Linked DNA regions of Homo sapiens: region 2 is linked to region 1. The links are contacts of gene promoters, found by promoter capture Hi-C in human tissues and cell types (Jung and others, 2019). All regions are on one chromosome and are shown on one strand. Each heading gives the region's core, a stretch centred on a gene start or on the middle of the fragment in contact. The rest is flanking DNA. Distances are from core to core; before and after follow the strand shown. Region 1 overlaps PPARD (peroxisome proliferator activated receptor delta). Region 2 holds the start of DEF6 (DEF6 guanine nucleotide exchange factor).

Region 1 (3,976 bases), core at 613-3,112:
ATGTTTCAATTCTTCTCGCACATAGGCATTTCTCTTTCCAATTTGGCTGCATGTCTACGGACGTCATTTGTTTTATTTTATCTGGTATTTTTCTGTGATAGTGGTGGAAAGGGGAAGCTCTTTCACGTTAATTTAGTCCCGTATCCTACTGAAAGTTTGTTCAAATGCTTAGCGTGTCATATGAAGCTTTTCATGATGCAGCCCATTCTACCTCTCCTGCATAAACTTAGCTCTTAAATTTTACACTTCAGCAAATTGAACTATTTGCATACCATGTACTGTAATGTTTAAAAGCACAGGTTTTAGGGTCCAGCTGTTTGGCTTGGAACCTGTCTTTTCATAAGGTATGATTTTGGACAAGTTACTTATCCCTTCCATAACTCAGCTTTCTCATCTGTAAAATGGCAGCGTCCGGCATGCAGTAACCCTGATCCCTGTTGGCTGCCTCTGTGGTTGCTGCCCCCAGCAGTTGAGGCTGCCAGGCCTCTGCGCAATTGCACTGTTTATTCCTTTGCTGGAATTGCCTGTCTCCCCTCCTCTCCTTGATCCCTCCCAGGAGAGCAGCCTTTACTCCTTCAGAGCTTGGGGTCTCTGTCTGTAGTAACTATCACTCTGTGGGTCGCTGCTTGTTTACGTATCTTTTTTTTTTTGAGACAGAGTGTTGCTCTGTCGCCAGGCTGGAGTGCAGTGGTGCGATCTTGGCTCACGGCAACCTCTGCCTTCTGGGTTCAGGCCATTCTCTTGCCTCAGCCTCCCACGTAGCTGGGACTACAGGCGTGCACCACCATGCCCAGCTAATTTTTGTATTTTTAGTAGAGACGGGGTTTCACCCTGTTGGCCAGGATGGTCTCCATCTCTTGACTTTGTGATCCGCCCGCCTCGGCCTCCCAAAGTGCTGGGATTACAGGCATGAGCTACTGCGCCTGGCCACGTATCTCCTTTTTTCAGCCGACTCTGACCCCCTTGAGAGCAGGGTCTTGTTTTTCTTGGTACTTGAAACTCCTTACATTCTACCTGTCATTTGGTGGGCATTCAGTGTTGGTAGTTTAATTGCATTGAATTTCTCTGGCTGAGTAGAGGCAAGTGCTGGGAGTGGTATGGGACGCAGAGGCAGGGAATGACAGCAGGAAAGCTTGTTTTTTGGCACATTTTGTGCCAAGTTGATGGAAATGTGAATCAGTATGGCTGGGACACAAGGTAACAATTCTTAGTCTAGCTGAGGATGCCAGAGACTTAAAACAAGCCAGTGGCCAGAAAAAGCCACTAAATCTTGCAAATTAAAGTGGTTTCCAGACTTAAGAATGCATGCCCCACATTCCCTTCCCAAACTCAGCGTCTCTGAGTGCCAGGTGGAGGAATACAAACTAATTATAATCCTAGTGGGCCCTGAGAATCTTTAATTTTAGAATAAGGCTGCACTTCTGAAAGGCGCAGTTGCTTTAGGAGTAGGTGACTCTGTATGCCCGGGGCCTCCGAGGAGACCAGGATGTGAAAACTCAGTACCTGGCATTTAGAGCTGTGTCACCCATCACTTCTGACCTCGTTAAGATTTCTACCCTACTGCGACTTAACAACTAAAAAGGGCAGATGAGATAGGTCCGGGGCAGAGCTTAATGGCCTGTGTCATTCTCCTCAGCTTTGCCTGAATTCTCTGGACTCTTGAGACTCTATCATAGGAATATTCTCAGAAGAGAAGGCAATCGAACCTTTAAAGATCCCCAGATTATCCATCAGATAACAGTCTCATGAGAGTGATGAACAATGACAGCACCAACTCTCAATTCCCTTGGCTGGAATTTCAGGAATCAGCTTGAACTCAGAGGTGGGCACAGGGTTAGGGCTTGGAGTAGGCGTCTTTTCTTTCTTTTTTTTTTTTTTTTTCTTTTTTGAGATAGCGTCTCACTCTTGTTGCCCAGGCTGGAGTGCAATGGCTCAATCTCTGCTCACTGCAACCTACGCCTCCTGGTTTCAAGCGATTCTCCTGCCTCAGCCTCCCGAGTAGCTGGGGTTACAGGCATCCGCCACCACGCTCGGCTAATTTTTGTATTTTTAGTAGAGATGGGGTTTTACCATGTTGCCCAGGCTAGTCTCGAACTCCTGACCTTGTGGTCTGCCCACCTTAGCCTCCCAAAGTGCTGGTATTACAGGCATGAGCCACCGCGCCTGGCTTGCAGTAGGCATCTTTGCCCAACCCACGTGAATCCCATTAGTTCTTTCTTGACAGCTCTCAGTCTGTGGTCATATATTAAGCAACTATGTGTTCAGTACTGTGCTGGGTGCTATTGCTGAAGATACGGAAATAGTAATGCCACAAGTCCCTCTTCTTAGAGAGGAGAGCTTGCACTCTAGTTGGAGAGAATTCCTAGCACACAGAAAGCTGCAACCAGTGGTGCCCAACAGTAATGCTGTCTGATGCCACTGCATGCAAGTGTGTCCCTTTGACAACTTGGTGCTTTTGCCCAAAAGGAGCTGTTCTCTTTCTGAGGCTTGGACTATTCGTTTGTTTTTTCTCAGATGACTTGCTGGCACTGTTACAGACTGGTCTGAATTAACTAGGACTACCTTTTATCTGTTTCTGAGGAATAGCCCCAAATGTGCTCTCTCTTGGTCTTTATGAACTTTTCCTTTCTTCCATTTCTCCAAATTATGATAGATTAACTTTGCAGTGTCATCTGCTAATCTCCAAGGTCTTCTAGGGGCACGTCATCAGCAGTTGCTGCTTTTGAGGTATCAAGGTTTGTCCTGTGGAGTCTCAGATAGTTTCTTTACCTGTTCAATGAATCTGATTTTCCATTTTTCTAGGAGAGTGTATCTCAAAGTGATTGCTGAATCAGAATGTCTGGGAGTGTGACTTGGAATCTATTACTGAAGATTAGAGGAAAATGTAGCAAATTGTGATCTGAAGCATTTATGGATGGATTGATGGATTGATGGATAGGGATTCTGACTGAGTTAGGTAGTCTATAGTCTCAGACAGTTGTGGAAGCTCCATTAGGTCATGAGCAACCCAGACTCCTTCCAATTCTGTGCCCTGCCATTCTTAGGGTGTGGCTGCTGTCCTCATGGTCCAAAATGGTTGCCGTGGTTCCACATCTCACAGTGAGATAGAAGAAGACAGAAGAATGATGTCTCACCTCCCTTCTAAGGAGACTTCAGCAAAGCCTGCCTCTACCACTTTCTGTGACTGAGGGAAAGTTAATTCATACTCAGAGCCAATTAACCTCGTGTTTTTTTTTTTTGTTTGTTTTTTTTTTTTTTTTTTTTTTTTTTTTTTGAGACAAGGTCTTACTTTGTCGCCCAGGCTGTAGTGCAGTAGCACAATCTCGGCTCACTGCAGCCTCGACCTTTCGGGCTCAAGCAGGGCTCCTCCCTGCTCAGCCTCCCGAGTAGCTGGAACTACAGGCACATGCACCACACCCGGCTAATTTTTAAATTTTTTCGTAGAGATTGGGGGTCTTGTTATGTTGCCCAGGTTGGTCTGGAACTCCTGGGCTCAAGTGATCCTCCTGCCCTGGCCTCCCAAAGTGCTGGGATTACAGGAGTGAGCCACTGCACCCAACCAGTTACCTCATTTGTAAAACAGGCATGGTAACACTTAGTGCAGGAGCAAGAGGATCAGGGAGCACACATACATACAAAGTGCTTGGTGCTGATGCCCAGCCTGCAGCACCTGTTCTCTAAATCATAGCAGCAATTGCTGCTGCAGCACACTTCTCTTTCTCCTCTCTCCACCGCTCCATCTCTCCAGGGTCTCTACCTTGCCTGTCAGGCTCCACTTTCCTTTGCTCCTGCCTTTTGCATCTGTTCCTCTCTGCATTCTCCCCTCATCTCCTCTCTTCCGTGCACCTCATTTTCCTGCTCCCCTCCTGCCTCTGTCCCTCATCTTCTTTTCAGAGACTTAAAACCAGCCAGTGGCCACTGGCTTTTCAGTGTCTCCTCCTCCTCCTTGAACTACCTCTTCCTTCTAGTGCTTCTG
Region 2 (3,976 bases), core at 958-3,457, 81 kb before region 1:
TAGGGTTGAGCCACAGACAGCTCTTCAGCCCAGTAGCAGTGGAGCAGGCCCTGTCCTGCCCTCCCAGCAATAACCACCTCCCTGGAGGCCAGCTGAGATGCCTGGCTACTTGGCACCAGGGACTTCCTGACACCACAGTCAATTAATTCCTCAGGGGCCTGTGGCTGAAGAAAAGGTGCCCAGCCCCCACCACTCCTCAGCTGCCCCCCAACCTCTCTATGGCAGAGAGGCAGGGAGTGGCCCTGTACATAGACTGCTGGGGATTGGGTTTGATTTGTTTTGTTTTTTTTAATTCCATTTTGATAATTTTTTTCCTGCTCTGGGTGGTGGTGGCACATGGATGAATGAGTATTTAATAAAAGTTCCAAATTTCCACCTGGGTCCCTCCATCCTTTCAGCTCTAGGCCCGGGTGGCAGGGTTGGTCAAATCAGGCTATCAGCCCTGTCTCCCTGGCACAAACCCCACTCAGCCTTGGTGCCAGAGTGGTGGGGCTGGCCTGCCAGGGACACAGGTGGGAAGGAAGCCCAGTATAAGATAAAGCCCTGAGGAGCTGCTGGTGGCTTCTTGCCCACAGCTGAGCAGGTGGGCTCCAGGGTAGCCAAACAGGACCAGGGTGACCGCTGCTTCCAGGCTCTGGCTGAATCTCAGGCCTCATGTGATTGAGCTGGGGGAACTCTTTTCCTGCCTTTTCTTGTGAAACGTAGTCAGAGCCCCTCCAACCCAGCCACCCCCAAATCACACAGTCAGCTTCTCCAAGAGGGCAAAGCCCCAGGTTAGAGTGAGGCTGGGGGACACCTTTGCCAAGGTTACTGAGATTCAAGGAGCAGAGTCTGATGCCTCTGGAGCTGAAGTCTTGGCTCTATTACCCAGCTCTGGGGGTGCCCACCTAGGTGCCTAGGACTGTGCTGTGGGATTTCAAAGCCACAATCAGACCCCACTGAAAAGTGAGTTGGTGAGACCAGATCAGCTCCAGGGGGAAGAAGGGATACAGGGGAAGGCACTTGATGGGAAGAAGCTCTGGGTTTGACTCTGCCTACACAGGAACATTGCAGGGATTGGTGGTGCCTCTTTTCCTCTCTCTGCTGTGATGGATATGCCCCAACCCCTTCCTGCCTCCTAGGATTGGAACCCCCTCCTCTGATCCAGGCATCCTCTCCCAGGATGCCTAGAAAGCTCCCATTTACTCTTGCCACCAGCTCCTTGGGAAGAGAGGGGCGGGGGCGTGCTTCCAGGCAGGAGGTATTCCCAGCACCTTACTTGGAGGGATTTTTATTTGGCTTAGGGGGTAGGGGGAGGTGTCTTAGAATTGGCCTGAGCAGATGTCTTCAACATCTGTGACCACCATTCCTGGTGTGGGCGTGTCCCAGTCCTTTTGGACACTGGATCTGAAGAAAGGAAGCACTGACATGGAGGGCCCTGAATCCCAAGCCTGCTGCTGCTGGGACCCTTAAAGTTGAGGTGCACCACAAGGCTCACCCCCATGTGTTTCAGGAAGTTTCCAGTGTCTTCAGGGCTACTGGGGCTAGAGTGGGCAGTGCTCTGAGTACCGTTTAGAGCCAGTGCTGAGGGGATAGGGAGCCAGCAAGTCAAGTGCCACATCCTGACCTGGAGAGGTGCCCTGGCCCATTTCCTTCTCCAGCTTTGTGATGTTGCCTTTGTTTCCTTCCACTTGGATGGAGTCCCACCACCATGGTAATGTTAAGTAGCACCAAAAGCTCTACCCAGAGCCTACTATGTGCTTTACGTCCATTCTCAGACATTCTTACAACACGGAGGCATTTTTCCTGCTTTACAAATGAGGAAACTGCTCAAGGAGGTTAAGTAACTTACCCAAGGCCTCCTATGTTGAACTAGGACTGGACCTTTACTCTGTCTGACCCCAATATCAGGATGAGCTTGCTTTTTCCCTCAGCAAGCTGCGTCTGGGAGCCCTGGAAGGCTCCAGAAGCCTCCGGGTCTGAGGAGGCTTCTAAAAGGGCCTCACATGCCCCGGGAGCCACGTGGATACAGAACGAGGGTTCCCGCTCTCGGAGAGTTGGTCCCCAGTTCCCATGCAGGGAGTGGAGCCTCTGAGCACTGCCAGAACAACAGGCAGGGTTCTCGACAGCACAGAGCCTCACGCAATGTGCAGGCAGGTGGTGCTCTCGCTCCACCACGGCACCTCTGCGGTCTCTGCAGCCGTTTGCATTTCCTGAAACCGGATCTTAGTGTCAGAGCCGCCCCCAGCCGGGCGGGCGCCTCAGCCATGGCCCTGCGCAAGGAACTGCTCAAGTCCATCTGGTACGCCTTTACCGCGCTGGACGTGGAGAAGAGTGGCAAAGTCTCCAAGTCCCAGCTCAAGGTGAGGGGCACCCGGGACCCGGGGGAGGACGGCAGATGCACCACACCAGCCCCTGCCGCCTGGGAGCCAGGTGTGGACACTGTGCCACTCCAGGGGCACCCAGCCATCCAGCGTCCCGGGCCTGGGGTCGGGGGGCTGGTCCTGGGTAACTGGGCCAACGTAGCCTGGTAGATGCCGCTGCCCACCCTCCAGAGACCTAGTGAAGTGTGTGCAGAAACCTTGCGCAGAACTGGGCCCCACAACTGGAGGCCAGGAGGTTCTGAGGGCCATTATGGGGTTCTGAGGGCCAGGAGCCAGGCCACATCCCAGACTCTGTGTGATGAGCACACACACCTCCACAGAGTCATGCTTGGGCACGCAGTGTGCTCTTTCTTGCTGCTTCCTCCTGACTTTCAAGAGAAACAGTTAGCCAGTGCTTGGCAGTCATTTCCTCTGGAGCTGAGAGAGGCATAAAGGGGCCGCCCCCAGTCCCAAACCTGTCTGGCCTGTCTAACCCTGCCCGCCAGGTGGGACAGAGCTGCGGAGTGGGTGAGGACTGAGGACCCTATTATACTGCTACGCAGCTCACCCCCCTATCCACCACACATATCAGGTTGGGAAACTTACCTTAGGCCTTGAGACCTCAGGTAGGGAAGGGGGAGAATCTAAGCCCAGGAAAATCCCAATCAATGATTGTCCTGAAGTCAATCATCTGGCCTAGACAATTTCTGGGAGGCCAAGGAGTTTTTCTCTCTCTTCCTCTAGTCCTCCAGTAGTGCTGCCTTCCCTACCCTAGTTAGTGGGGAGGAAGCAAGGCCCTCAGCCACTAGAATCAGCGAACACTGGGGGAAAGGAGCAAGGTAGGCCTCAGCTCTCTAGGACCTGCCATAGGGGTGCCTTCGTTCACTCTGCAAGTACTTGAGTGCCCCTCGTGAGGCTCTGTGCCTGGCATGTGGCTAGGCACTAAACTGGTGTCTCCCTGCCCCATCCTCCAAAGGAGACGTGTGGTCTCAAGGAAACCTCCATTCTTAATGACCGAGGTAGAGGGTGCTGGATACCTGAGAGATGAATGGGACAGAACAGTTATTGTGCCCCACCACCGTTCCAACCCCCTACTTTACTGAACTTGGATGTGAGGAACTTGAATATCCCAAACTGGTCCTATGTTAAATTCCTTACCTGGATTTGTGAGCATCTAATAGATGATTTCACTCCCCCAGGAAGGAGAGCCCACTACTATCTTTTGTCACCTAGGGAGAACCTCCTAACAGGCAGATTCTTCCTTACATCCTATTTAAATCTCTTGTATTGCAGATCATGTCATTTGGTTGGGTCCTCAGTATAAATGGAAAAAAGTCGATCATCCAAAATCCATTTCTGCAAACTCTGTGTCCCACCCCTACCTCCCACCCTGTCCCTTTAATATCTTGCCAGACAATACCAGCCCCCGTGGCTTTTTGCTTCCAGGGTAACATTTTCCACTTCTGTATTACCTGTGGCCACTGAGACCTCTCCAGGCTCTCTCTGCCCTTCACATGGAAAGTACAGCCTTTAAGTGGCTCCCCTTTTCCTGGTGCCATCAGCCAGTAAAGCCTCCTAGCTTGAGCCTCTGTCTTGCCCTCTAAAAGGGCCACTACCCACTCCCTCATCCCCAC

The links. Contacts are between HindIII fragments. The study calls those that stand out against the background at their distance.
Region 2: a contact is called between the fragment with the promoter of DEF6 here and a fragment that was not itself captured in region 1, in 2 of the 25 tissues and cell types used here (aorta and thymus).

What each region holds. Positions count from the first base shown.
Region 1 is chr6:35,377,233-35,381,208 of GRCh38, forward strand. All of the region lies in intron 2 of PPARD (peroxisome proliferator activated receptor delta), which reads left to right. Among named protein-coding and RNA genes, the nearest start is that of PPARD, 37 kb to the left of the region's middle. The HindIII fragment of the contact is 8,220 bases long and covers 1-3,976 here.
Region 2 is chr6:35,295,611-35,299,586 of GRCh38, forward strand. DEF6 (DEF6 guanine nucleotide exchange factor) reads left to right here and starts at 2,208. Exons shown (of 11, transcript NM_022047.4): 1 at 2,208-2,342. The coding sequence starts at 2,247. ZNF76 (zinc finger protein 76) reads left to right here. Exons shown (of 14, transcript NM_003427.5): 14 at 1-375. RefSeq lists a silencer at 545-709. The HindIII fragment of the contact is 30,942 bases long and covers 1-3,976 here.